7 separate regions of the Homo sapiens genome follow, and all the other regions are linked to region 2. Evidence: promoter capture Hi-C in 16 types of primary human blood cells and fetal thymus (Javierre and others, 2016). All regions are on one chromosome and are shown on one strand. The core of a region is centred on a gene start or on the middle of the fragment in contact, and the rest is flanking DNA. Distances in the headings are between cores, read along the strand shown.

Evidence for each region. The method cuts DNA at HindIII sites, captures the fragments that hold promoters and counts their contacts. A CHiCAGO score of 5 or more calls a contact.
Region 1: a contact is called between a fragment that was not itself captured here and the fragment with the promoter of SPRY2 in region 2, in 1 of 17 cell types (endothelial precursors). The highest score is 10.1, in endothelial precursors.
Region 3: a contact is called between a fragment that was not itself captured here and the fragment with the promoter of SPRY2 in region 2, in 4 of 17 cell types (M0 macrophages, M2 macrophages, M1 macrophages and 1 more). The highest score is 6.0, in M0 macrophages.
Region 4: a contact is called between a fragment that was not itself captured here and the fragment with the promoter of SPRY2 in region 2, in 1 of 17 cell types (endothelial precursors). The highest score is 5.8, in endothelial precursors.
Region 5: a contact is called between a fragment that was not itself captured here and the fragment with the promoter of SPRY2 in region 2, in 3 of 17 cell types (endothelial precursors, megakaryocytes and total B cells). The highest score is 8.5, in endothelial precursors.
Region 6: a fragment that was not itself captured here is called in contact with the fragment with the promoter of SPRY2 in region 2 in 6 of 17 cell types (endothelial precursors, megakaryocytes, naive B cells and 3 more); the score reaches 10.3 in endothelial precursors.
Region 7: a fragment that was not itself captured here is called in contact with the fragment with the promoter of SPRY2 in region 2 in 1 of 17 cell types (endothelial precursors); the score reaches 5.0 in endothelial precursors.

What each region holds. Positions count from the first base shown.
Region 1 is chr13:79,642,889-79,646,903 of GRCh38, reverse strand. No RefSeq gene overlaps it. Among named protein-coding and RNA genes, the nearest start is that of LINC01068, 78 kb to the right of the region's middle. The HindIII fragment of the contact is 2,417 bases long and covers 1,258-3,674 here.
Region 2 is chr13:80,339,144-80,342,970 of GRCh38, reverse strand. SPRY2 (sprouty RTK signaling antagonist 2) reads left to right here and starts at 1,845. Exons shown (of 2, transcript NM_005842.4): 1 at 1,845-2,349. RefSeq lists an enhancer at 1-21 and silencers at 1-28, 1,428-1,477, 1,708-1,897. The HindIII fragment of the contact is 9,098 bases long and covers 1-3,827 here.
Region 3 is chr13:79,661,268-79,665,426 of GRCh38, reverse strand. No RefSeq gene overlaps it. Among named protein-coding and RNA genes, the nearest start is that of LINC01068, 97 kb to the right of the region's middle. The HindIII fragment of the contact is 5,202 bases long and covers 1-3,908 here.
Region 4 is chr13:79,551,603-79,555,755 of GRCh38, reverse strand. NDFIP2 (Nedd4 family interacting protein 2) reads right to left here. Exons shown (of 8, transcript NM_019080.3): 8 at 1-3,240. Among named protein-coding and RNA genes, the nearest start is that of LINC01068, 13 kb to the left of the region's middle. The HindIII fragment of the contact is 811 bases long and covers 1,385-2,195 here.
Region 5 is chr13:81,005,209-81,009,004 of GRCh38, reverse strand. No RefSeq gene overlaps it. Among named protein-coding and RNA genes, the nearest start is that of LINC00377, 11 kb to the left of the region's middle. The HindIII fragment of the contact is 2,757 bases long and covers 911-3,667 here.
Region 6 is chr13:81,022,033-81,025,698 of GRCh38, reverse strand. The region is part of intron 2 of LINC00377 (long intergenic non-protein coding RNA 377); the gene reads right to left. Among named protein-coding and RNA genes, the nearest start is that of LINC00377, 5.5 kb to the right of the region's middle. The HindIII fragment of the contact is 3,363 bases long and covers 1-3,130 here.
Region 7 is chr13:79,623,592-79,627,637 of GRCh38, reverse strand. No RefSeq gene overlaps it. Among named protein-coding and RNA genes, the nearest start is that of LINC01068, 59 kb to the right of the region's middle. The HindIII fragment of the contact is 5,462 bases long and covers 1-3,983 here.

The sequences.
Region 1 (4,015 bases), core at 1,217-3,716, 700 kb after region 2:
CCCTCTACACCTTGGAAAAGGAGATATATACTCCAAAGGACAGTGAGCCACCTCTTCCACAAGCACTAATCTATAGAGATGAGGCACATGAAGAAAATTATTCCCAAATGCCTCCCCGTTCATTGGATAATGCCTGAAATTTTACAAAGTTTCATTAATTTAAGACTGACCATCTGTTATAAGGCAAACATTCTTCCAACTGTTTATTTACATTGTGAATGACTTTCTGCTCCTATAGAAGAAATTTATAGCATTAAAGGGGCTTTAAAAGAAGAAATCCTGAGACTATGGAGATGAGAGAAGAGTGGCAAGAGAGCTTTGGAATCCCTCTCTCTGAGGTCACCTCAAACCTATAGGCAGAGCCCTGAGACCCCCTATGGATGCTCTCCTCCCCAACTAAACTAAGAGACACTTTCTGTCTCTAGCAGTAGAAAACTCAACAACTCTAGAAACTCATGGTTAGTCACATCTACAGCCAGTCAGGCTCTAGTCCTGTAACCAGGACTAGTACTTGGCCTTTTTTCAGCAGCTGTGACAAAGCCCATGCCTTGAAACTTTTCCTATGACTGGATCCTTACCTCCATATCTGAATAATTACTTAACTTTGCATGGGAATTCTACATATATCAGTCTCATACAAGCTTTGCAATAATTAGTAAGTGAGGTAGGTATTATTATTCTCTTACAAAGATAAAGAATCACAGGGAAGTTAAGAACACACTCAAGTTAATGCAGCTATTACATGGCAAAGCCGAGACCTGAAGTCAGACCTCACGGTCCCCAGCCAATATTCCTTCTACAATGAAATACTGTCCTACTGGATACACCTCTCTCTCTCTCTCTCTCTCAGCCTGAGGCTTGAGGCCCTGCTTGTTGACACAGCCCTCTAGCCTTCCATGTCTAGAGTTCTATTCCTTTAATGTCTTTATTGCACAGATAATTATGGATCAATACTAGGAGCCAAGCACTTGGTTTGTGACAAAACAAACATGCTGCTTCCCATTCGGGGGTTAGCCTACTCACCAAAAAATAAATGTATAATTTCACATAATCATAAGCGCTACAAAAGAAAAGTGGTGCAATAGAAGCAAGCAGGTGGCGGGAGGGCACATAGGGACAGGAAACCTATTTTGAGTGGGGCTGTCAGGAAAACCTCTCTGTGGTGTTGACATTTAAGCCAAGACCTGAAAAATGATGTCAGTGGTGAGAAGAAAGTGATGATATTGGTGGGGTAGGAGTCCCTAGATCAAGAAAGCTTTGACAGTACAAGAAAATGAGAAGGAGGCCAGTGTGCCTGAAGTATGGCAGGGAGGGGAGCAGAGATGCATTTGGAGTAGTGTGCCTGCCCAAACATAGAGGAGTTAGGATTTATCGGATTGACAACTGGGATCCACTGAAGAGTTTTAGCAGAAGAGTAATATGATCACATTTATTAAAAGATTATTCTGGTCTTTAACTCCTGACCTCATGATCCACCTGCCTTGGCCTCCTAAAGTGCTGAGATTACAGGCATGGAGAAACCCTGTCTCTACTAAAAATACAAAAATTAACTGGGCGTGACGGCATGCACCTGTAATCCCAGCTACTCAGGAGGCTGAGGCAGAAGAATCGCTCGAACCCAGGAGGCAGAAGTTGCAGTGAACCAAGATTGCACCACTGCACTCCAGCCTGGGTGACAGAGCTAGACTCTGTCTAAAAAAAAAAAAAAAAAAAAAAAAAAAGTGAAAAAAAAAAGATTATTCTGCAGGTGCTTTGGAGAATAGAGGGGAAGAAGGCATGGATGATGGCAGAGAGGCACAGCAGTGGCCCAGGGATGAGATGATGCCTTGGAATATGGTAGTGGTAGACAGAGGAGTTAAATATGTAGAGTTGAGATGCACTTGGGAGATAGAAGTGCTGATGGATGAGCTTTGAGGAGCAAGAGAAAGGAACACATTAAGTTTGGCTTCTCAGGTTTTTGCCTTTTGCAACAGGACCAAGCTCAGCTTCTGAACTGGGAAAGGATGAGACTTTGTCATTTTATAATGACCATATTTCTCAATGCTAAGATGCATTTTTTTCCTGCAATTTGGTGTTTCTGAAATCGATATGTCTTACAATCAATATCAAAGGAAAACTCCAGAGAAGCTGTGACAACATTGTCTTCCCTTACAAATATGTGAAGTTGGCCCAAGGTGGAAGACATCTATCCATTCATCAGATTGTCACCTAGGCTATTTGCACTGACTGCACAATACATGGTGCATCTTAATTTGCTTTACTTAACATGTTTGCATAGAGATTACACTACAAAGCAGCCTTGAAATGATAAGACATTGTATATGCAGAAGAACAAGAAATACATTAAGTAAATAAAGTTGGAGAACACAAATTTACCATAAATGAAGCACATATTTGCCCCTGAAAAACTTTTTTTTTTACCATAAAACAATGAGCTAGTGTTTTTCAGGCTCTGAAAATTAAAGATAGCCACAAGAGATAAACTGGGGCTCATGGCAGGGTAGTAGTGAGGCTGAAGGAGCTGTCATTAAGATATGTACAAATGTTACCTAGGCTGGGCACCGTGACTCATACTGGTAATCCCAACACTTTTGGAGGCTGAGGCAGGAGGATCACTTGAGTCCAGGAGTTCAGGGCTAGCCTACGCAACATAGTGAGACCCTGTCTTTACAAATAAATATATAAAAATAGCTGGGCACGGTGGCATGTGCCTATAGTCCCAACTACTCAGGAGGCTGAGATGGGGGGATCCCTTGAGCCGAGTTTGAGGATACAATGAGCTATGACACTGCGCTCCAGCCTGGGTGACAGAGCAAGACAGTCTCAAAACAAATATATATACACATACACACACACATACACACACATACACACACGTATGCGCATATATATGTATATATATGTATCTTGTCATATACCAGGTAATATATTAAAGGCAATACCAATTGTTCAGTTCTGAGTATTTCATAATAGGATTTTCAATGATAGGAAAGATTAACTTGAGCCTTTCAGACGCTAATTATCTATCTGACTAAAACATTCAGGTGACTTTCGAAGAAGCTGTTTGAATGCCAGTGAAACGAAGTTTGATTAATTTAGATAAGAGGATATGCCAAACATTTCAATTGCACTTCAATTTTCCCTACTTTTTTTTTTTTAAAGAGCATTTTCACTGTGTTGTGGGGAGCAGAGGGTATTCCAAGCCCCATCTAAAGAGGCATGTGGTGTCTGACATCTAGGCCTTGCCCAGTAGGCAATCCAGTGTGACAAGGAAAGACAGAACTAGCTCTTTGTATTCCAGCAGGTTGAATGCAGCCTGATCTCTGAGTGCATGACCAGAGCTAGAAAGGAGTAGCCAACCTGGGTCCTAAAACTTCAGACTGAGGAAGCAACCCCTGGCCCTGAGAAGTGGTATCTTTCATCAGGTATGACACTTATGGAAGAATCAGCCTCACAAACCATGCTGACCTGTGCCAGGAGCCAGGCATGGAAATAAATAAAGACCAAGCAAATGAGAACAGATAAAGGCTATTTATTCAGAGCTATAGGGAGGGAGTTAGCCACCATCATTTGTCTGTAAACAGAAATTCAAAGGAGTGGAAAAGCATTGTAGTGGGGAAAAAAGAGAAGGCTTCAGGTGTGCCCTGACTGGAGGCTATTGGCATGGGAAAGCTTTAGGCGGGCTGACTAGAAGCAAAGCACCCTCTGTAATTGGTTAGGGGTGTATATTAAGTTTTCTTGGGTTGGTCTGAAGTTGAATGCAGAGACAAAAATAAGAAAAGATGTTACTAATCAAGTCCTGGGCATCTGTAGCTGATTGTTGCAGGGGCTATTGTTTAGGTTTCTAGGCTGGTTGCTGGACATACTGGTCTGACTTCCTGAAAGTCTGACTTATAGATAGGCTGGTGTTCTGGGCTGGTAACTGTAAATAATTGAGTTCTAGGCTGGTTGCTGCAGATTGTAGGTCAGAGCTCGATTTCTTATATGTTCTGACCATTCTCAGTTTGTATATGTC
Region 2 (3,827 bases), core at 596-3,095:
CGGGCGTCCGGCGAGCGGCTGTGGCCAGAGAGGCCCAGCTGTTTTGCGCCCGCAGTCCCGGGACGCTCGGGAGCAGGCCGTTGTAGCCTCGTCCACCCTCACCTTAGGGGTCGGGGGACGTAGGCCAGCGCCCGGAAATAACGCATGCCACTTCCCTTGCCATCTCTGGTTCCAAATCCCTAGAGAAAGAGGAGAGCCCTAGAGAAACATGGAGAAGTCAGGGTGAGACCGCAGCGAGGCAGAGAGCGCGCTGGGGACATTCTAGAGCAGGAGCTCAGAAGAAGGCAGCTAGTTCCAGGGTAGCTGCAAATGGATTGGGTTAAAGCTGGACGAGTGAAGCACCATGTTTTCCTAACACTGCTTTCAAGAACACCCCGCATGGGGCAAGATCGCAGGTGCTATTCGGGAATTTTGACCGTACAAGCAGGTACTTCCCTGTAAAGTAAAAGCATTCTGTAAGTCGCTCGACAGAATGCAATATTAGGCGTGTGTATGCGCAAGTTTTAATTTTCCACTGGTGCTCCCACGTGAAGGCACATTTCTTAGTAAATGAACGGCAGCTAGGACAGTGCATATGTATGCATTTTCTATCTTTATTTTTTTTTTGTAAATGGGAAAGAATAGTGCACCTTCAACATGGACAACAGAATCTTGAGAAATGTTCTAGGTGGCAAGAAAAGTGGGAAATGAAGGATGACTTTTAGTTAAGGGAAGAAGGAAATCTGCAGTGAGCCAACCCTTCCCTCCCCCCCGCCCCCCCATTTCGGAAGCCCATGCTGTCGCCCTGAGTAATCTTGTTCCTGTCTATTAATGAATTAAGTTAAAAGGCTTAGACTGTAGACTTTAGCTACTGCATGAAGCAAAATAGTAAGGAAGCTCTTCAAAAAGCCTCCATTCATAGATAACCCCCCTTAAAAATGAAATTCTAATAAACGGAAAAACTACAAGTCGACACAATCAAAAGCAAATCCCAGCAAGAGCAGAAGGTACTTGAAACTCGAATCTGCATTCCGTTCCTCCCGTACAAGGCTCGGAGGTGGGGGAGGCGGTTTGTGCTGGTGCCTGGTGTATAATCGGGTTAATCCAGTAGACAAAGAATAAACCAATAGCCCTCCCACCTCACTTCCCGCTCCCCTTCCCCTCCCCCTTCTTCTCCCCCCGCCCCAGCCCCCGTCACCCGCTCCGCAAAGGGGAACAGAAAAGGGGAGAGGTAGACTTGAAATGGATTCTGGATAAAGTCTTAAAACCTGCAACTTGTTTTTCATGCTAACACTGCGTGGCCCAGATTAGTCTTAAATGTTCATTCCCCTTTCCTGGTGGCAAGGAGAAAGTTCCCTAAGTCAGCTCGAGCCTCTGGCTCGTCCTCATTGCCTCTGGGCAAACCTTAAGGTCAGTGTTTCCTTGAAACTAGATAAACTGACCCTGCAGTGCCCAGCCCGGCCCCGCGGGCGCCCCGCGTGACGGCGCTCGGGCGGCAGGACCGGCCTGGGGACGCGCGGGGCGGCGCGGTTGCCCTTTTGAATGCCTCCTGCGGCTCGGAGCGCTGGCGGGCGCTGGAGTGTGAGTGAATGTAGCCCCGCGGAGCCAATGAGCTGGGACCGGATGCGATATATCCTCTGGGACAACAACTGCTCTGTTCCGCCTCGGATCCACATGACGCCATTTACTGCTGCCGCGGCCGCCGCAGAGCTCCCTGCCTCCTCCGGAAAGGCGAGGGCGCAGGCCAACGGCGAGCCCCCCCCGGGCGGGCCCCAGACCCTCCTCCTCCTCCTCCTCCTCCTCTTCCTCCTCCTCCGCACCCACCGCCCCCGCCTCGGCCTCGCTGCCTCGCCTCCACAACGCCCAGTCTGCACCGCCGAGAGCTGCGCGCCGCAGCGCTAGCGGAGGAGAGGGGCCGGCGGAGCGCGCAGCGCCCAGGCCCCCGCGCCCGCCCGGCCCGGCCCGGCCCGCGCCCCCGCGCCGCCTCCGCTACGACGCGGCCCCGGCCGCACCACTTGGCGATCTGGCTTTAGGTTCTCCGTAAGGCCGTTTTCTTTTCCCATTCGCTCATCTGCCAGGAAAAGGGACTTGCCGTTGGCGCTTCGGCCTCTTGTTCATTGAGAAAAAAGAGGAAATACTCCGCGTGCGCTTGTAGAAGGGGAGTCGTCTCCAGCTCCGAACCCCGGAGTGTTCATCAGCGGGGAATCTGGCTCCGAATTCTCTTTTTTTCTCCCGCCGATTGCTCGGAAGTTGGTCTAAAGCAGAGGTTGGAAAGAAAGGAAAAAAGTTTGCATCGAGACTGGATTTATTTGCACATCGCAGAAAGAAGAGAATCCAAGGGAGAGGGGTTGGTGCAAAGCCGCGATCACGGTGAGGCACGTTTGGCTCTTCCCCTCCTGGCGCCGCGGCCGGCGCGTTGTGGGCAACATGGAGTAGGTGCAGCCGGACCAGGAGTTGGGTCCGTCTCTCCCCGAGCCTCCCTTTCTCAAATCCCGCAGGGTCTTCGCGAGGATCCGGGGCGCTCCCCGCGGACCTGCCTCGCCCGGGGCTTGGGCTCGGCCTGCCTCTGCGGGGACTTCTGTATGCACCCCGTGCAGTGTCCCCGACAGGCGACCCCGCGCGCCCGCGCTCTAGGGGGTTGGGACGGAGGACAGCTAGCCTGAAGTCTGCTCCCAGCCGTGCACTGGCCGCGAATTCGGCGCTGAGAGCGGGAGAGGGAGAGAAAAACACTTTGTATTTTCCAGGTTGCCTTTGCAGGCGCCCGCATTTCTAACCTGTTCTTCCTCTTGGTGGAAGGCAAAGTCCAGGGAGAGGCTGTCCCTAGGCGGGGCGCTGGTGGGGCTGGGGGACACAGGTTGCCCGCCTCGGGGGCAGGAGACTTCCAGGGTGAGAAAAAGGCAGGGTGCCGGGTGGAGGGAGTGCCCGCCTCTGCTCCGTGTGGACAGTCTAGCCCGGAGCGGGTGGGAGCGTCGCCCTGCCTGGCGCCGGGTCTCTGCGGTTCGGAAGTGCAGCTCTCTCTCTTCCGTTCTTCGTGGTCAGCCTGGGTCACACTTATTTTATTTTTGGAAGCTCGGGCTGACCCAGCGCAGGAAGAAAGTCATCAAGCGGTCGCGATCATTTTCCATTACCTGAAAGTAGGTGGCAAAATAGGCAATTTTTTATTTCCTTTTGTTGTTGTTGTTGCTGTGTTTTAATTTGGATTCTTGTGTGTTTTTTACAAAGCAGTTTCTGTGTCCGTTTGCCCCACCCTAGAGCTGAAGTTCTTTTCCCCTAATCCTCAGTCTGATCACACACTGTTCTTAATGGGGGTTTCAAAGCACTTTCAAAGGGGAGGGGGGACTGGGAAAGAGAAGAGGGGCGGAGGTAGGGAGTCCAGCTTTGAAGAAGGAGGCCAGGGATCGGATCGGCAGAAATCACTTAAAAAATAAAAACAAAAAAGCCCCCTTTTATTTCAAAGATGCTACTTTGACTGCAAGCAAATCTGCACCGAAAGTTTACAGCTCCGGGAGCTGGGTCCTGCGCGCCCGGAGTGAGCAGTGGGACCCTGGAAAATGCCCTTTTTTTAAAAAGCCATTTTTCTTTCACTTTAAGAAATATGATATCTTTTTTTTTTCTCTCGACCCAAAAGGAGATAGGCGTGTGCAGATTACAGGCAATGCCCCCTTCGGTCAGTGCAGCGTGGAGTCGCCGTGTGTGCGTGGGTTGGACTTGTGCGTCCTGGCTGCGTGTCTCAGGCAGGGCTTTCGTGCTCGCAGTGTCGGGGTGGGAAACCTGTGCCGGATGTCCGAGGGGCTTTGCAGAAAGCCTGGCAGTGGGCGGCGTGACCTCTGCCTGGGGGCGGAGTGGCT
Region 3 (4,159 bases), core at 58-2,557, 680 kb after region 2:
TGCGTCTGTTGTGATTTTAAGAAGATTTACTCTAACAACTATCTTGCATTAACTCTGGAAATCGTTATAGTAATTCCCTGTGGTCAGGAGGGAATACGTGACTGTGAGGTTGATACCCTCAGCAGAATTCAATGAGGATCACTTCATTATGTTACCATCCCTTGGATAGTTGGAGTGGTTTGGCTCAACATAAATAATTTTTTTGTCTTTAATATTTGCTTAAGTAGAACCATCATCATTATGCCATTAGGTTGAATTTTAAGATGTAGGCTCGTTTCGTTGGCTTTTGGCGCATTTATTTTTGGCTTTCTTAGGAATTAACCGCAAACCATTAGTGAAAACAATAAAGCAGCCAGGAGAACTGTACAGAAAGCCTGGGCAAAGACAGTTGAGGAGGTCTTTAGCAAAGTCTCCCAGATTTTTGCCTGAGTTACCCAAATACATTGACAAATATCTCTATTTTAAAGTCATTAAAAAGGAAAAATATCTGGAACAATTTCTGCAGAAATCCCTCGGACTTTCCTCATACTCCCCCTAAGCCCATGCCACAACATGTACCACTAGACACACATGACAAATTACCAAGACCACACCATTTAAAAGTAAAACAAGATTAAGTTTGGTTGTCCATAAAGAGGAAAGATCTGGAAGCACTTTTTAAACTAATCTTCCACTACCACCGAGATTCTGATGAGTGCAGGAGGGAGAGATGTTAGAATATATTGGGCATGGGAAGGCTGTCTTTGGAAGAGTCTGACCCAACCTCAAGTGGGAGGGGGCATATATGGGAATTAGAGATGAAGATGAGCATGTGTCCTTTGAAAAATCTACCCAGATAGTTTGCCTGTAGGAGTTAGATATTTCCTCTTTAGTACTTTCATACCTCTTTGAATCAGATTCTATTTTAATCACAATATATTGTTGTCCTTCTTCCTCATTACATTAAAATCCTCAGAGATACAACTAACGGCATCTTACACATTGTTCTATCCAAAGTTCTGGGCGTACTGCCTCCTCCCCCGCCACCCCACTCAACTTTTAAGTTCGGGGGTACATGGGCAGGATGTGCAGGTTTGTTATGTAGGTAAACATGTGTGATGGTGGTCTGCTGCACATATCATCCCATCACCTAGGTATTGAGCCCAGGATCCATAAGCTATTTTGCTTGATGCCCTCCGTTCTCCCACAGGCCCCAGTGTGTGTTGTTGCCAACTATGTGTCCCTGTGTTCTCATCATTCAGCTCTCACTTATGAGTGAGAACATGCAGTGTTCGGTCTTCTGTTCCTGCATTAGTTTGTTGAGGATAATGGCTTCCAACTCCATCCATATCCCTGCAAAGGATATGATCTTGTTCCTTTTTATGGCATACTGCCTTTCACACACTGTGTTCAATACCCATCCCTAGGAGAAGTGTATTTACTGTAGAAAGACTATTACAGAAGTTTTTACAAATAAAAGTAATTATGTAGTGAAATGAATTTATTGGAACAACTACATTGGTTAACACATTTTACCTAGGGAAAGAATGTACTCATTTGAAGATTTTCCATCAGGTTTTTTACTTAATATCCATGTAGTTATTTTTGTAAGCCAGTTGCTTATATACAGCCAGTTGCTTATGTGCAGCATACTACATACATTTAGCACCAAAGAATCATGTCATGCTATCACTAGGAGGTTCTCTAACTAATATCATGTCAGAGAAACTTTCAAGCATGCTTTAAAAATGCTTATGTAAAATGTTTCCCTGGCCGTGATATCATGTCAAGTCTAAATATAGAACTTGCTGTCTGTAGTGTTTTTAGTCTTTGGTACTGTTCCCTTTAGCTATAGCTGTGCAACTTGTTTTGTGAACCAGTCAACCTGTTACGATGATGTCAGTATTGAAGTTATATAATAGTTTTCCTTCAAAGATTAAAGATACATGACCAATATTATAAAATATATAGATCTGACAGAATGCTTTATAATTAGATGAAATGTGCTTTGGGAAAAATTCTAATAAAACGTACCAAATAAATAATGTGACAAACCAAGCCCATGAAATCATCTCTTACTCTGTGTAACTCTTTTCGCTCGGTATCATGATTTTTTCAGATACGCAGAACTCTAATGATCAAAGGTTTATTAGTAAGACAGGAAAAGGAAGGGAGACAGAACCAAATCGGTTAATACTATATAAAGCTACTTTCTATCACATTTAAAGTATATTAGGAAAAGAAAATGTATTGATTAAATAAGTTATCACTAGTTATTCTATTACTGTTAAACAGGAAAGCTAGACTTAAAGTAAGCTGACATAGATCTGCCGATGAGTACATAGCAGGGGAAGTGGCTGCATGCCACAGTCTGCCATCTGGTGACACCTCATTGAAAGAGAGATAAGGAGCAAGAAAAATTATTGTGAACTTTCTTTATCCCGGATAGTTAGGATGTTTACTTCCACTCACCTTAATGGCTACATATCACTAGTTCCCAATATCTGACCTAGAGTAAACAGACTTTTTATGATTTATTTTACTACATTTCAGTTTCTCATGAAGACTCTATTGAGTATGAATTCTAAAAAGATTGGTCCTTAGGCAACAGGAGCGCTCAATGCCCAGTTAGAAAGATAACACAGCTGTTTGTTCAAACACTTTTCTAAGTGATCCGCAGTGGCAGCAGGAAAGAAAATGATGTCTCCTAGAAAGTAACAACTTGGCTAAAGTTAAACTAGCTTCAATAAAGAACATAAGAGAGAAAGATTCAAAAGAATGCTTGAAAAACTATCCTAAGAAGCTCAACAACCAACTTTACTTATTTAAATGTCTAAGAAGCAGACATTTGGGTGTCTCTTTAAATCTTCTAAAATAAAATGATGATCGTAGGTTAAATACAATCTGAAGTGTTAATTAAATGATTTTGTTTTTAAACCCATATTTTAAGATATATGTAATTTATTGCTTGTTTGCATTAAGTATAATTTTTTTTTAAGGCAGGATCTTGCTTCATCACCAAGCTATAGATCAGTGGCACAATCATAGCTAATTGCAGTCTTGAACTTCTGGTCTCAAGCAATCCTCCTGCCACACTGCCTCAGCCTACCAAGTAGCAGGCACATGCCACGATGCCTGACTAAATTTTTTTTTATTTTTTATTTTAGAGACAGTGTCTTTTTCTGCTTCCCAGACTGGTCTCAAACTACTAGGCTCAAACAATCCTCCTGTCTCAGCCTCCCAAAGTATTGAGATTATAGCGTCAGCTACTGCACCCAGCCCCTGAATGCAATTTCAAAGAAATATCTGATGTCAAAAATGTGTGACAAATTTTTTAACAAGCCTTTTATTTCCCCTAAGGCTTAGTAATGGTTGTTTTTCCCCAGTAAAGGTAGATCTAAATGTATTCTAACCTCAGAATAAATTCAATTAACTTAATCCATGGCCAAATGATTTTCCCATTCTTTCAGCAGATATATTCTCTAAAAAAGCAAGCATACTATAAATCGCTAGGCTTCTCTCTGGCCAAGGTGCTGCTACTTTAAAATAACCTTCTCTAGGTTTGTCCTAAAAGTCAGCCTTGCTGCATGAGAAAAGAGAATGGAGTCTAAGTAAGTAGATCTGGAGTGAAACCCAGATTTTCATCACCTACTCATGGTATGACCTGGTAAAACAGCTTATCTTTTCTTAGATCTGATTACCTCCTCTGTAAGGCTTTGTAGGCCATTGTAAAGATTAAATGAAATAGCGTATTGAGAGTATCTGGCACATATTAGACCTTTAATGAATACTAGTTTGCTTCCTTCTTCCTGTAACAAACATTGAAAATAATACATTCTGATATATCTAATGGGTTTTTATTGGCACAAGATTTTACTAACACTAGAGAAGACAGTGGACTCAGACAAAGTGCCTATCTTTGAAAAGCTTATACCTTTTTCTATGTATCGAAAGAGTTCCATGAGGTAAGACAGGATTTTCCTCTCATTTCTTTGTTCCATCCCCTCCACAGCCTGGGTGTGAAAGAAAATTCACAATAACTCATAGAAATTGCATTTTAAAGGGCTGGGCGCGGTGGCTCACACCTATAATCCCAGCACTTTGGGAGGCTGAGGAGGGTGGATCACCTGAGGTCAGGAGTTCAAGACCAGCCTGGCCAACATGGCAAAACACCATCTCT
Region 4 (4,153 bases), core at 541-3,040, 790 kb after region 2:
ATTATCATCTAACAATTGACCTTTATCAAATATATGTTTTCATATGACTATTTGAAGAATTAAATAATAAACAACTAATAAATGCTAAAATAACATTTAACAGCAGTTAAAAATATAAAAGCCATTCAGTTTAGTATTTACGATAAGCTGGAATCATTCAAATACAACTATTAAAAAAAATACTATTCCTCTTCTACAGGCCAAATGGTTCATTAGAAAACACTGTGGCAATAATAACTGGCTCCTGCCCTTACCCCAGTTCCATCCCTCAAAGGGCAGTGGAGCTAAGGTAGTTGCTTCTTGGTACAGTCTACAATTATACACAGGATGATCATATAACTTATCCTCCAAATTAGAACACTTTTGAGAGTACGATGAGGCACTATTAAGCTGAGAAAACAGGAATAACCAGGACTCTTTTGAGCAAACTAAGGATATATATTACCTTAGTTAAGTATGGTATCACATTCACTATCATTACTTTTTGCACTTCTTGAAATAGTACATACTAGATGAAAAAAATTATATTTAATGAAGGAACTCTGAATTTTTCTCCAATTGGATATTTTGAACTCCACTTTTCCTGTTAGGAGAGGTTTTACTGGAAATAATATTGTTTTAGCAGGTAAAAATCTGTGAACAACTTAGAAGGCATGTCTAAAATGAAATATATCTTATAGACTCAAAATAGGCTAAAGATTAGTATTTTTTCCATTAAGCAGAGATTTTCATTTTAACCAAATGTAATGGGATTTGTATTTTAATCTAAGTTTCTAAAATCTGTCCTGCATACACTATATAGAAAAGTGTTGTTTTTGCCTTAAAATTCAGTTTATTGCATAAATACATGAAAATGGATTATCCTAGCCATGACTAGCTTATTCATTTACAATAGAAATAATTTGAAATTTTTTTGTATTAACTTCCAATCCCCAGTTCACACTCAAAAATGTTTAGATACCCTAACAAGAGTTTTGATTTTTCAATCTTTAAGGCAGAGTGCAAAGATGATCAAGCATCCCCAAAACACAACAGCAGCTGTTCAAGCTCACAGGAAATGAAGTATGCAGGATTTTATATATCTGAAGGGAACATTAAGTTCTTGAAAATAACATTCTGATTCCCCTGCTTACATGATGAGATTTAAGGCTACCATTGAATTATGCCAATTATAGAGGATTCAGTAATATGTATACTTGAACCTTACAGATTTGGGGGGAAAAGTCAAAACAAAAAGTGAAGTTTTGATGCTGGATCAAAAGTAACATGTATCCATATTCAGAAAACAAGCACATATACCATAAAAGCTAAAATGAAATTTTAGTAAGTCGATGTTTGATAGCTAAGCTTCCTAGTAATTATTTAATTACCATGTAGCAAAGCTTAATTTCATTTAAAAATTATTGAAAGAATAAAGTACAGGTCTATAAGAAATTAATATGAAAGAGATCCAGCATGAGTTTGAATATGTTATTAGTACAGTTTAATTTTAATTAACTTCCAAATTAGGCAACTAAACTAAATATTTTTTCTTTACCCCATGCTACTGTCTTACTTCAAGGGGTGTAACACAGGTACTTTAATACAACAATAAAAATTTTAATATAACAATAAAAATTCTACGCAGGAAAGTAAACTGAATGAGACAAAACAAAAAATAGGCTATATTAGCAAAACAAAACTGTTTTATTTATCAAAGACAATGAAAAAATTAGAAAATACAGAAGAGGTTATAAAGCATAATAAATTTTATTTTTTGGAAATGGAAAAATGTCCCTGAATAGTTAGATGTACCTTTTAGTAGTAATGTCTAATAATAAATAAGAAATCAATTTTATAAGGTCCATATAGCTGTATTAAATAATTTTTAAGTTTAAAAGATAAAATACCATCATTTTAAATGTTGGTATTCAAAACCAAAGATATAACCGAAAGGAAAAACAGATGAGACATAAAATGATTTGCAAGATGGGAAATATAGTAGTTTATGAATGTAAATTAAATTCCAGTTATAATAGTGGCTACACACTCTCACTACACACACAGACCCCACAGTCCTATATGCCACAAACACATTTCCATAACTTGAAAATGAGTATTTTGCATATCTCAGTTCAGGATATGTTTTTTACAAGTTAATCCTAAAGTCATAAAGCAAGAAGCTATTCATAGTACAAGATTTTATTTGCTAAGCTTTACAAATTAAACTCTAAAAAATTATTACAATGATACTGAAAGATATTTTATTGGCCTTTTAAAAGACAAACACAAATGAGAATTATCTTATTTAGAAAATTAACTTTGAAAATTATCTTAAATGAAATAAATATAATATCTAATACAATCTCTTCCTGCAAGATCTCTTAAGATGGGCAATCCTAAAAATGCAGCTTCCCATCTGAAAATCCCTAAAACTAGTATGTCCCTTAAAATAAAATTTATTTTTCTTATAAAGGACATTTGGTATTCCCACATTTTCTTAAAATTTGTCCTAAAACAAATTCTATCTTTAACACTCACGTTTCTAAATATATATATGTGTGTGTGTATATATATGTGTATACATATACACATATATATTTAGTTCACTTAATTTAAAATTAGTGAAAGCTATCTGGACACAATTTCTAAGAAAACATTGCAGAAAGTAAGTTATGCATGGTTATTTACAGGAAGAGTTTTCCTAAATAATAATGTAAATATCATGTTCAAAAATCTGACAAATCCTTTCTAATAATCAGCACTGCAGGTTTCAATACACCTTATATAACAAAAGATGTTTCATGTGTAGAACTGCCAGATGAGTCTAAGAGCCAGAAACTAAATCATTTGACATGGTTAAGAATTTCATTTTTATTATACTAAATGTCAGGTCAGAAGTCAATGGCATTTACAAGCTGGAAGACTGTTTATCCACTCAACTCTTTCAATTATATCAAACACTGATTAACCAAATGTGACTGGACTTAACTGCTACAACTTTATGGTTTCTATCAAGTATATGCAAATATCTTAAATGGGCACATATGCATATGTGCAAAACAAATGAAATATAGATACTTAAAGAATGAACAGAAATGGCTTGTAAGCAAAAACCACCCTGCCATTCAATTTCGAAACTCCGTCTTTTCTTCACTAATTTGTCTTCTGTTATTAGTAGTCTTCTATTAAAGTTGTAGGTTTACAGATGATCTGGAAATTTCACATTGGTATAAGAAAGGAATGTCGGGTTGATGCAGTCTGGAGACAAAGAAGGAATTAGTCTTAAAATGTATTAAGTTGTCTTTATCTAAATCATAGTATAATACAACACATTTTATAGAAGAATTATATTAAGTATATAATATTCTCTTCATTAAAGTCTACATATCAGAATACATTCTAAAGTGTAAGGCTTCTATAGCAGATTTTCATCTAGAAAATATTTGCATTGTATTTTAGACTCTTCAAAATGCATAGAAGACAATCACACAAATTAGTAAAACAGCAAAATTACTTTGCCTTTTAATCTTATTATTAATACTGACAAATTCTTAATGCCAGTGTCTGCAAAGATATTTTGCTTGTTAAAATAAAAAAGCGACTTCTTTGGGAGTGGTTGGGGGAGACTTTAGTAGAACACTTAAAATGATACTTTAACATGATCTAGAAATACAAATGTATTCATAGTACTCTAGCAGAAATAAGTAAATTATATAAGCTTATGTATAACTTATATAAATGATAAAATGTAAGCAACCAAATCACAAAGCATGCAGTTTATTTATTTGAAAAAAGAATACTTAATAAACTTGAAACACTTTGTTCCTTATAGTCCTGCATTCAGAAGTTAAGTACTAGTAGACATTTTGGTAATAGAGTTCAAATGCTTTATAAGTTTACCTTATTTATAGGTATAAAGTACATGGTACTTGCTTTAAAAAGTAGAATAGGGAGTATGAGGTTACTTTATGTGAAGATACTCCCGCTGAACAATAAATAAATACTATTACTATACCCACGACCTCCAGAAATTCACTGGATAACCAGTAAGACAACTTCTACTCATTTCTTCATATTCCTACTTATTCAAGTTGTAGCCTTCATAGTTGATAAAAAATCAGCACACATTAAGAAAACAATAACAGAACTATTTTCTTCACATGACTTTTAT
Region 5 (3,796 bases), core at 1,040-3,539, 670 kb before region 2:
TTTAAAACTAATCATGCTTTCCCAACAGTCCCCCAAAGTCTTAACTCATTTCAGCATTTACTCAAAAGTACATAGTCTGAAGTCTCATCTGAGACAAGGCAAGTCTCTTCTGCCTATTAGCCTGTAAAAAAGCAAGTTAGTTACATCCTAGATACAATGGGGGTACAGGCATTGGGTAAAGGCTCCCATTCCAAATAAGAGAAATTGGCCAAAACAAAGGCTACAGGCCCCATATGAGTTCAAAACCCAGTGGGGCAGTCATTAAATCTTAAAGCTCCAAAATAATCTCTTTTGACCCCATGACTCACATCCAGTTCATGCCGATGCAAGAGGTGGGCTCCCATGGCCCTGGACAGCTCTGCCCCTATGCCTTTGCCGGGTACAGACTCCACAGCTGCTTTCACGGCTGCTTTCATGGCTGGCATTGAGCGTCTGTGGCTTTTCCAGGTGCATGGTGCAAACTCTCAGTGCATCTACCATTCTGGGATCTGGAAGACAGTGGCCCTCTTCTCACAGCCCCAGTAGGCAATGCCCTAGTGGGAACTCTGTGTGGGGGCTTCCTAATCTTCATCTGAGACAACCTCAGCCTGGACTTCATTGACCATAATAGCATTTTGGTCAAAACCATTCAACAAGTCTCTAAGAATTTCCAAACTTTCCCACATCTTTCTGTCTTCCTCTGAGCCCTCCAAACTGTTCCAACTTCTGCCTGATACCCAGTTCCAAAGTCGCTTTCACATTTTTGGATACCCACTCTTCATAGCAGTACCCCACTTTCTGAGATAACAATTTACTGTATTAGTTCATTTTCACACTGCAATAAAAATACTACCTGCAACTGGGTAATTTATAAACAAAGGAGGTTTCATTGACTCACAGTTCCACCTGACTGGGGAAGCCTCAGGAAGCTTACAATCATGGCAGAAGGGGAAGCTGGCACCTTCTTCACTGTGGATGGGAGAGACAGAGAGAGTGTGTATAGGAGAAAATGTCAAACACTTAAAAAACCATCAAATCCTGTGAGAACTCACACATTATCACAAGAACAGCATGGGGAAAACTATCTCCATGATCGAATCACCTCCCACCAGGTCTCTCCCTCAACACCTGGGGATTACAAATTCAGGAAGAGATTTGGTTGGGAACACAGAACCTAACCATATCACTCTCCTATCAAACAACATAGAGTGTTTAAATGGATTTTTTAAAAAAGATACCCAGTGATCTGTTGCCTACATTTTACCTATGCATGCACACATGGACTGTATAAACAGATGGAAAAAGCTATTCCATGCCGACAGAAACAAGATAAAGCAGGAGTAGCTATACTTATATCAGACAAAATAGATTTCAAAACAAAAAGTCCAGGAAACAAGAAGGTCACTATAATGATAAAGGAATCAATTTATCAAGAAAATAATAACGGCCGGGTGTGGTGGCTCACATCTATAATTCCAGCACTTTGGGAGGCCGAGGCGGGTGGATCATGAGGTCAGGAGATTGAGACCATCCTGGCTAACACAGTGAAACCCCGTCTCTACTAAAAATACAAAAAATTAGCCGGGTGTGGTGGCAGGCACCTGTAGTCCCAGCTACTCGGGAGGCTGAGGCAGGAGAATGGCATGAACCCAGGAGATGGAGTTTGCAGTGAGCTGAGATCGCACCACTGCACTCCAGCCTGGGTGACAGAGCGAGACTCCATCTCAAAAAAAAAGAAAAAAAAGAAAATAATAACAATTGTAACTATATATGGACCCAATGCTAGAGCACCCAAATACATATAGCAAATATTATTAGAGCTAAAGAGAGAGATAGACCCCAATATGATAATAGCCAGAGATATCAACACCCCACTTTCAACATTATACAGATCTTCCAGACAGAAAGTCAACAAAGAAACATCAGACTTAATCTGCACTGTAGTCCAAATTGGACAAAAAGATATTTACATAACATTCCATCCAATGGCGGCAGTATAGACATTGTTTCCTTAGCACATAGATCATTCACAAGAATAGACCATACTTTAGGTCACAAAGTAAGTCTTAAAACATTTTAAAAAATGAAATAATATCAAGCACCTTCTTTGACCACAATAGAATAAAACTGAAAATCAATAATGAAAGGAATTTTGGAAACTATACAAACACATGGAAATTAAAAAATATGATCTTGAATGACCAGTGATTATTTGTATTATATTCTTTATTTCAAATTTATTTCTACTCTGATCTTTAGTATTTATTTTGTTCTACTCATTTTGAATTTGGTTTGCTCTTGCTTTTCTAGCTCTTTAAGATGCACCTTTAAGTTGTGTATTTGATGTTTTTCTTTTTTTTGATGAAGGAAGTTATAACTACAATCTTCCATCTTAGTATTACTTTTTACTGAATTCCATAAGTTTTGGTATTTGTGTTTTTATTATCATTTGTTTCAAGAAATTTTTAAATTTTCTTCTCAACATAATAAAAGCCGTACATAAGCCCCACAGCTACTATTATACTGAATGGGGAAAACCTGAAAGCCTTTCCAGTAAGATCTGGAACATGACAAGGATGTTCACTGTCACCACTGTTCTTCAACACAGTCCTGGAAGTCCTACTTAGAGCAATCAGACAATAGAAAGATATAAAGGGCATTATATAAAGATATAAACCGAATTGGAGAAGAAGTCTAATTATCCTTGTTTGCAGATGATATAATCTTATATCTGGAAAAACCTAAAGAATCCACAAGAGAACTATTAGAACTAATAAATAAATTCAGTACAGTTGCAGAATACAAAATCAACATACAAAAATCAGTAGCATTTCTATATGCTGAAAGCAAACAATCAGAAAAAGAAATCAAGAAAATAATACCATATGATAGCTACAAAATAAAATACCCAGGAATTTATTTAAGCAAAGGAGTAAAAGATCTCCGCAATGAAAACTATAAAATATTGATGTGATAAATTGAAGAAGTCACAAAGAAATGGAAAGATATTCCACGTTAATGGACTGTAAGACTTAATATTTTTAATAAAATGTCCATACTATCCAAAGCAACCCATAGATTTAATGCAATCTCAATAAAAATACCAATGACATTATTCTCAGAAATAGATAAAACAATTATAAAATGTATATGGAACCACAAATAGCCAAAGATATCCTAAGGGAAATAAAACAAAACTGGAGGAATCACATTATCCGACTTCAAATTATAGTACAGAGCTATGGTAATTAAAACATCATGTTTGTGGCATGAAACACACATGGATTAGAAGAAGAGAACAGAGAACCCAGAGATGAATCCTTATGTCTACTGTGAACTCATTTTTGACAAGGATGCTTTGTCAAAAGCATCTTTGTACTTTTTTGACAAAAATTATGTATATTGGAAAAAGTACATTCTCTTCAATAATGTGCTGGGAAAACTAGAGATCCACATGCAGAAGATTGGAATTAGATTCCTATCTCTCACCATTTGATCTTTGATACAAAGATCAAATCAAAATGGGTTAAAGACTTAAATCTAAGATCTCAAACTATGAAACAACTAAAAGAAAACTTTGGAGAAATTCATGAGGGCATTGGAGTGGGCAAAAATTTCTTAAGTAATACCCCGCAATCACAAACAAAGTAAAAAATGGACAAATGGCATTACATCATGTTAAAAAGCTTCTGCACAGCAAAGAAAGCCATTAACAAAGTGAAGAGACAACCCACAGAGTGGGAGAAAATATTTGTAAACTGCCTATCTGACAAGGGATTCTTAACCAGAATATATAAGAAGCTCAGACAACTCTATA
Region 6 (3,666 bases), core at 200-2,699, 680 kb before region 2:
CATTTACAATTTTTTAAATCAGTGTTTGTAGCTTTCCATGTAGAAGTTTTTCACCTCCTTGGTTAAATGAATTGCTTGGTAATTTTATTGTGGCTATTTTAAATGGGATTGTATTCTTGATTTGGTTCTCAGCTTGAGCATTTTTGGTGCATATAAATACAGCTGATTTCTGTGCATTAATTTTGTATTCTGAAAGTTTACTGAAATTGTTCGTCAGGTCTGGGAGGCTTTTGGAGAAATTTGTAAAGTTTTCTAGGTAGATCTAGTCATCAGTAAACAGAGATAATTTGACTTCCTCTTTTCCAGTTTGGATGCCTTTTATTTTTACCTCTTGCCTGATTGCTCCGGTTAATACTTTCGATATTATGTTGACTAGGAGTGGTGAGACTGAACATCTTTTTCTTGTTCCAATTCTTAGAGAAAATGCTTTTGACATTTTCCCATTAACTGTGATACTGGCTGTGGGTTTGTCATATACAGCTTTTATTATTTTGAGTTATGTTTCTTCAATGCCTAGTTTGTTGAAGGTTTTTATCATGAAAGGATGTTGGATTTTATCAAATGTGTCTTTTTCTGTGTCTATTAAGATAATCATATGGTTTTTGTTTTTAATTCTGTTTAGTGGTGTATCAGATTTATTAATCTGTATTAAAACACCCCTGCATCCCCAGAATAAAACGCACTTGATTATGATGAATTATGTTTTTGAAGTGCAGCTGGATTCAGTTTGCTAGTATTTTGTTGAAAATTTTTGGAGGTTGTTCATCTGGGATTTCTGCCTGAGGTTTCCTCTTTTTTTTCTTGGGTCTTTGCCAGATTTTGGTATCAGGAAGTCCCTCTTTGCCAATTTTTTTGAACCCTTGCAGTAAGATGGGTACTAGACCTTTCTTGCATAGCTGGTAGAAGTCAGGTGTGAGTCTATCTAATACAGGGCTCTTTTAGTGAGTAGATTTGTTATTACTGATTCAACTTCATAGCTCATTATTGTTATGTTCAGGATTTAAATTTCTTCCTGATTCAATCATGGGAGGTTGTATCTAGCAATTTATCCTTTTTCTCCTGGTTTTCTAGTTAGTGAACATAGAGATGTTCATAATGGTCAATGATAATCTTACATATATGCCTGTGGTATCAGTTGTAACATCATGGGTATCATTTCTGGTGCAGCTTATTAAAATATTCTCTCTTTTCTTCTTCATTAATCTAGGCAGTGGTCCATCAATTTTATTTCTTCTTAGGCACGCTGGCTCCTGTTTCTTCCTTCATAGCCACTCATGAATGCCCACCTCAAGACTTTTGCATTTGTTCTCCCTCTACCTGAGAGATTCTTCCCCAGGTCTTCTTGTTGGCTGACTACATCTCCTCTTTCAGATCACCCAATTCCACCACCTTTTCAAAAAACCAACTTTACATTTTGTTGATACATCATATGATTTATTTGGTTCCGATTTCATTAAGTTCTGCCCTGATCTTTGTTATTTATTTTCTTGTGTTACCTTTGGCTTTGGTTTGTTCTTGTTTCTCTAGTTCCTTGAAGTGCAATGTTAATTTTTTTGTGTTAATGTGAGATCTTTCCAGCTTCTTAATATAGACATTTAGCACTATACACATTCCTCTTAACGTTGCTTTCGCTGTATCCCAGGGGTTACTGTGTAGATGCTGTGTATATATTTTCATTTGTTTCAATTTTTTTTTCTGATTTCTGCCTTAATTTTGTTGTTTACCCAAAAATCAGTCAGGAGCAACCTGTTTATTTTCCATGTCCTTGTGTAGTTTTGAGAGTTCCTCTTTGTATTGATTTCTATTTTTTACACTGTTGTCTAAGAAAATACTTGATATGATTTTGATTCCTTTGAATTTATTGAGACTTGCTTTGTGACCAAGTATATGGTCAATTTTGGAGAATGTTTCATGCACAGATGAGAAAAATGTATATTCTGCAGTTGGTGAGTAGAATGTTCTATAGATATATATTAGGTCAATTTGCTCAAGAGTTTAATTTATATCCGGAGTTTCTTTGTTAGTTTTCTACTTCAAAGATCTGTTTAGTGTTGTCACTGGGGTGTTGAATTCCCACACTATAGTATATAGCTATCTATCTCTTTTTCTTAGGTCTAGTACTGTTTCTTTAATAAATCTGTGTGCTCTGGTGATGGCTGTGTATATATTTAAGATAGTTAAATGTTCTTGTTGAATTAACCCCTTTATCATTATATAATGCCCTTCTTTAATTTGTTTTGTTACGTTTTGTTTTGTTTTGTTTTACTGTTGTTGATTTAAAGTATGTTTTATATAGTAAAACAATAACAATGCCTGGTCTTTTTGGTTTTCCATTTGCATAACATATTTTTCTCTTACTTTGAGCCTGTGGGTGTCATTATTCATTAAGGGTCCTTTGAGGGCAGCAGATGGTTGGGTTTTTATTTTTATCCAATTTGCCAATCTACATCTTTTAAGTGGAGCATTTAGGCCATTTACATTCAAAGTTAATATTGACATGTGAGGTTTTGTTCCTGTCATAGTGTTTTTAGGTAGTTGCTTTGTAGTCTCAATAGTGTATTTGCTTTATAGGGTATGTGTACTTTGTATTTATGAGTGCTTTTATTGTAGCAAGTATCATCTTTTCACTTCCATATTTAGAACTACTCTGAGCATTTTTTGTAGGACCAGTCTCGTTGTGACAATTGCCCTTAGCATTTCCTTGTGTGGGAATGACTTGATTACTCATTTATTTATTAAGCATAGTTTGGCAGGATATAAAATTTTGGCTGGAATTATTTTTCTTTAAGGAGGCTAAAAGTAGGCTCACAATCTCTTCTGGCATGTAAGGTTTCTGCTGAGAAATCCACTGTTAGTTTGATGGGTGTACCTTTATAGGTGATTTGACCCTTTTATCTAACTGCCTTTAAGAATTTTTTTTTTTTTTTAGTGTTGACTTTGATAGTCTGATGACCATATGTCTTGGTGAAGTTTTTCTTGTACATTATCTTACAGGTGTTCTCTAAATTTCTTGTATCTGGGTGTCTACCTCTCTGGGAAGACTAGGGAAATTTTCCTGAATTATTCTCTCAAATACACATTTTTTCAATTTGCTTACTTTTTCTTCTCTCTCAAGAATGCTTTATAAGCTTTGGTCAACTTAGGTAATCCCATATTTCTCTAAAGTTTTATTTATTTAAAAACAATTTTTTTCTTTATTTTTGTCTGACTAGGTTAATTCAAAAAACAGATCTTCAAGGTCTGAAAATTTTTCTTCTGCTTGGTCTAGTCTTAGTAAAGCTTCCAACTATATTTTGAAATTTCTTTAGTAAATTTTCCAATTCCAGAATTTCTACTTGTTTTTCAATTAAATATAGCAATCTCTTCTTTTATATCCTGAATCATTTTTCCGGTTTCTTTGCTTTGATTTTCAATTTTTTCTTGAATCTCATTGTGCTTCCTATTGGATTCTGTATCTGTCATTTTAGAATTTTCATTTTGGTTAGGATCCTTTGTTGAAGAATTAGTGTCTTCCTTCAGAGATGTCAACACTCAGGTTTTTTGTTCTGCTAGTGTCTTCACACTGATTCCTTCTCATCTGAAGCAGCAGTTGCTTTTATTTTTTGTGTAATTTGCTATCATTTGAATGGAATTTTTATGTCTTATTCTTTTTTCCCTTGAGGATAT
Region 7 (4,046 bases), core at 3-2,502, 710 kb after region 2:
TAAAATATGCATAACATAAAATTTACCATCTTAACCATTTTTAAGTATACAGTTTAGTAGTGTTAAGTACATTCCATTGTTGTACAATCAATCTCCAGAACTCTTATCTTGCAAAACTAAACGCTGTACCCATTAAACAACTCCCCATTTCCCCACTCCCCAACCCCCTAGTAACCACCGTTCTATCTTCTGCTTCTATGAGTGTGGCTACGCTAGGTTCCTCATTTACGTAGAATTATACAGTAATTGTCTTTTTACAACTGGCTTATTTTACTTAGCAAAATGTCCTCAAGTTTCATCCATGTTGTAGCATGTGTCAGAATTTCCTTCCCATTTAAGGCTGAATAATATTCTGTTACATGTATATACCGCATTTTATTTATCCATTTATTTATTAATCAGCGGACATTGGGGTTGCTTCTACTTTTTGGCTATTGTGAATAACGCTGCAATGGACTAGTGTTTCTGTTTTAATCCCATGCTTAACTGTGTCTCACACCCACATTCATTAAAACAAACCTGCAACCTCAAGTGGCTCACATTCCGCTGAATGGGAAGATTGAGTAACATGGAACGATTAACCACAAAAATGTGATATGCACTTCTATTAAAATATTAAATTATATTTTAAAAGATTCCCCATACGTTATACTTCATGCCTAGAAACTTTTCTTGTTTTCTGCTTTTTTGTTGTTGATATTTGTTTAATGATATGCAACTTCAGTTATATCATTCAAACATTTTGTTAAAACAACTAACACTCAATACCTGTTGGTTGGTCTTGTCAGGATATAAGCCTGTGATACTGAGGAAAGATAACTAACAGTTTCTCTGAAAGAAAAGAAACTTATTACAACAGTTAGCATTATATCCTGAAGTTCACCGAGAATAAAAGGTAGATTTAAAATTATCATTTTAAATACAAGGATACACAAGAAAAGAAGAGAAATACATGATTGGAAAGTTCTAGACATGTAAAGACTAAATGTAACAGTATCAGAACATGGATAAGCATTTTTTTAAAGGCAAATTCTTGCAAAAACAAGTGCAGCAGTTCCTCAAATAATATTGTTTTATTCAATGTCATTTTTTTATAAAGTTAATGAGAGGAAAAAATTGCCTAGAGTAAAACTGGTTTCATTAAATGTTGTTTTACTTGAAGTTTGCAGTTTCTAAGAATATATTGATGATGTTGCGTGAGGACTTACTATATTCATACCACATTAACTCTTGAGCAGGATTGTTGGAATAAACACTGTTATTACTGTTTCCTGTGTGAGAACCATGAAAATATCTGTCAGAAGCAGTCAGTGAGGGAACTGCTACAAGATTCAGGATAGTTGCCCCTGACTACAACATTCAAGTTAGCTTTAAAATTACTTCAATTTTAATCAATCTCATTGTACTTTTGTGGGACATGAAATGAACGTAAAACAAATAAAAGTACTGTTAAAATAACTACTATTAAGATATGAATCAAATGATTAAACTTGAGGTTAAGAAACTATTTTCTCACTGAAGTAGAAACACAGTATTGGTATATTGAAGAGCAAAAATCTGACTGTCACCTTCATTCATTCAAGGGTATGTAGACTTCACAATTTTCAGTTCAGTTTAAGTGTCTCATCAATGGTGACAAATGAACTGACTGTGCAAATCTGAAATCTCAAAAGCCCCCTAAAGGGAAGGGAAACTCATATTTAATAATAACTTTCTTTTACTAGGCAACATAGTAGTTGCCTTTAAATTTTTTCTTATTTAAACCTTTTAACAATTCTTTAAGAAAGGCAAGATTAGCTCCATTTTGCAGGTGAAAAAATTGGAGATCTGGTAAATTATTAAATTGGCCCAAGGTCATAGAGCTAGGCAATTATTAAGCCCCAATAAGTACTTAGCTCTGTTTGAATCTCTAACCCACAGCCTCCTGAACAGTGAACTTAAATTTTAGAAACTCCTCCCCCTATATTACTGCACTAGATGACTTCATTTCAAATGTCTTACTTTTAGCCACACCTTTTTCCAAACACTTCACAAAGTCAAACCAACGGAACCATAAGAATCTAATAAATAATTGTGTGATAAATAAAAGACATGAGATTAAACTGCATGTACAATATTTTCTGAGCAGCTTCATGATTCTAAGTTACTATTTGAGAATGTTGTTTGAGGTTTTCTTTTGCATGTATGTACCACTTGTCATATAGCAAAATCACAAAATAATGTTGTATGAAAGGATATAGCAATCATCTCATTTTGTTATTATCTTCTACATTTAATGACTAAGAATTTATTAAATGAGTAATTGAATGAATATACCAATATGAATAAATTTTATAAACAAAGTGGTAAAATGGCATACCATCTTCTATGGAAGGTTCACAGCAACTCCTCCACGAAACAGAAGACATTCTGTGATTCACAAAATCTTTTTAAAGCACAGAAAATCTGAAAAACGGCCAAGCAAAATCAGACCCGCTATATCCTTTATTGAAAGTTCAGTAACTTAGCAGGTTCCTGCCCATTGAAAGCTAAGCATGTCTTCCTCTTGCCTAAATCTTAATGATGGTGAATCTGTTACTTTAACACGCAATGATAGTTCAGGCTACATAGATGGCCTCCATATTACTTAGTTGTCCCCAGCTTATTTCCCCAATCAATCTGTAGGTACTCATGCTACTAACACCTGTACTTCTTAAGTTAACGTGAGTCCCTGAAAATTACTTGTAAGCCCTCCTAACACTATGTAGAGAAGAACTGTCTTCAAATGAGGGTTGAAGGCTGGGGTATCAGAATGTCCCGTGAGAAATTTCAAAGCTATACAACTTTGCCCTGCCCCCATTCTTTTACCCCTTTCATGTTTTGATATGTACTATGGGATACCTGCCAAAATCCTGGGGAAGACACACAATGTATTAACTTAGAAAAAGTAGATCCCAGCCTGGGAAAAGGGGGATATGTCAAATCTGGGGCAAGGGGTCAATGTGAATAACTTGACGAAGCTCCAAAGTTATTCTGATACATATAACTTCTTGAGACCTACATCAGTGGGTCCCTGGCCAGTAAAATATGAAAAAAATTCCTAAAAGAAAAACATTCAAAATTAAATAGTTCAGAATTTAAGACAGTTCCTTAAATGTAAGAAATATAACTGGATAAACAACTGACTTGTTTGCCATGAATGAAAAAGAACTTGCTCAGTTACATCACACCCATAGGATCCACTTCGCCCACACCCTCTGTCCTGTGTAATTAGCATCTCACTAGTTACAAGCCAAGCCCCCTTCCTTCCTGCCCCATGATGTTCACCATGCCTAAGGGACAGGAATTGTTATGTCCATTTCAGGGACAAGGAAATTCATGCTCTAGTTGGGTAAATGTGTTGCCCAAGGCAACATGATCAGGAACTGGCAGAATCCAAAGTAGAACCAAGCACTTTTGTGTGGAGCACGGAACTGTTAAGTGCTGAGAAATTTTGTAACAATTTACGACGCAAAATTTTCCCTGTTAAATATAAAAATAAATAAATCAAGAATTTGTAGTTTGTACATCTTAGAGGTTTTTAATTTCATTTTTCTCATAATTGTATTCTAAAAAGTATTGGTCCACAAGAATTTGAAAATAAAAAAAAAGGAATGAATGCTTCACGACGGTGTTATTGAACAGAACTGGGGCCCGTGTACCTGGTGCAGCAAAGCCAAACACTGACATCAGGAAAGCCGTGAAATAAAGTGAGGCATTTATTGCAAGATGCCAATCAAGGAGAATTGGGCATCTCACACTTAAAACTCAAACTCCCTGATAGCATACAGGTAAGAATTTTTAAAAGCAGAGAGGCAGAGGTTACAGGCAAAGTCATAAGTCAATACATGGAAGCTAAACATTAATTTGACCTAAAAAGACAGGACATCTAGAAGTGGGGACCCCCAGATCATAAGTAGACTTCAAAGACTTTCTGATTCATCATTGGTTAAGGACGCAAAGCTTTGTCTAAAAACTTGGGATCAGCAGAAAAGAATGTTAGCTCTGGCTTGTAGGCATGACCTCCT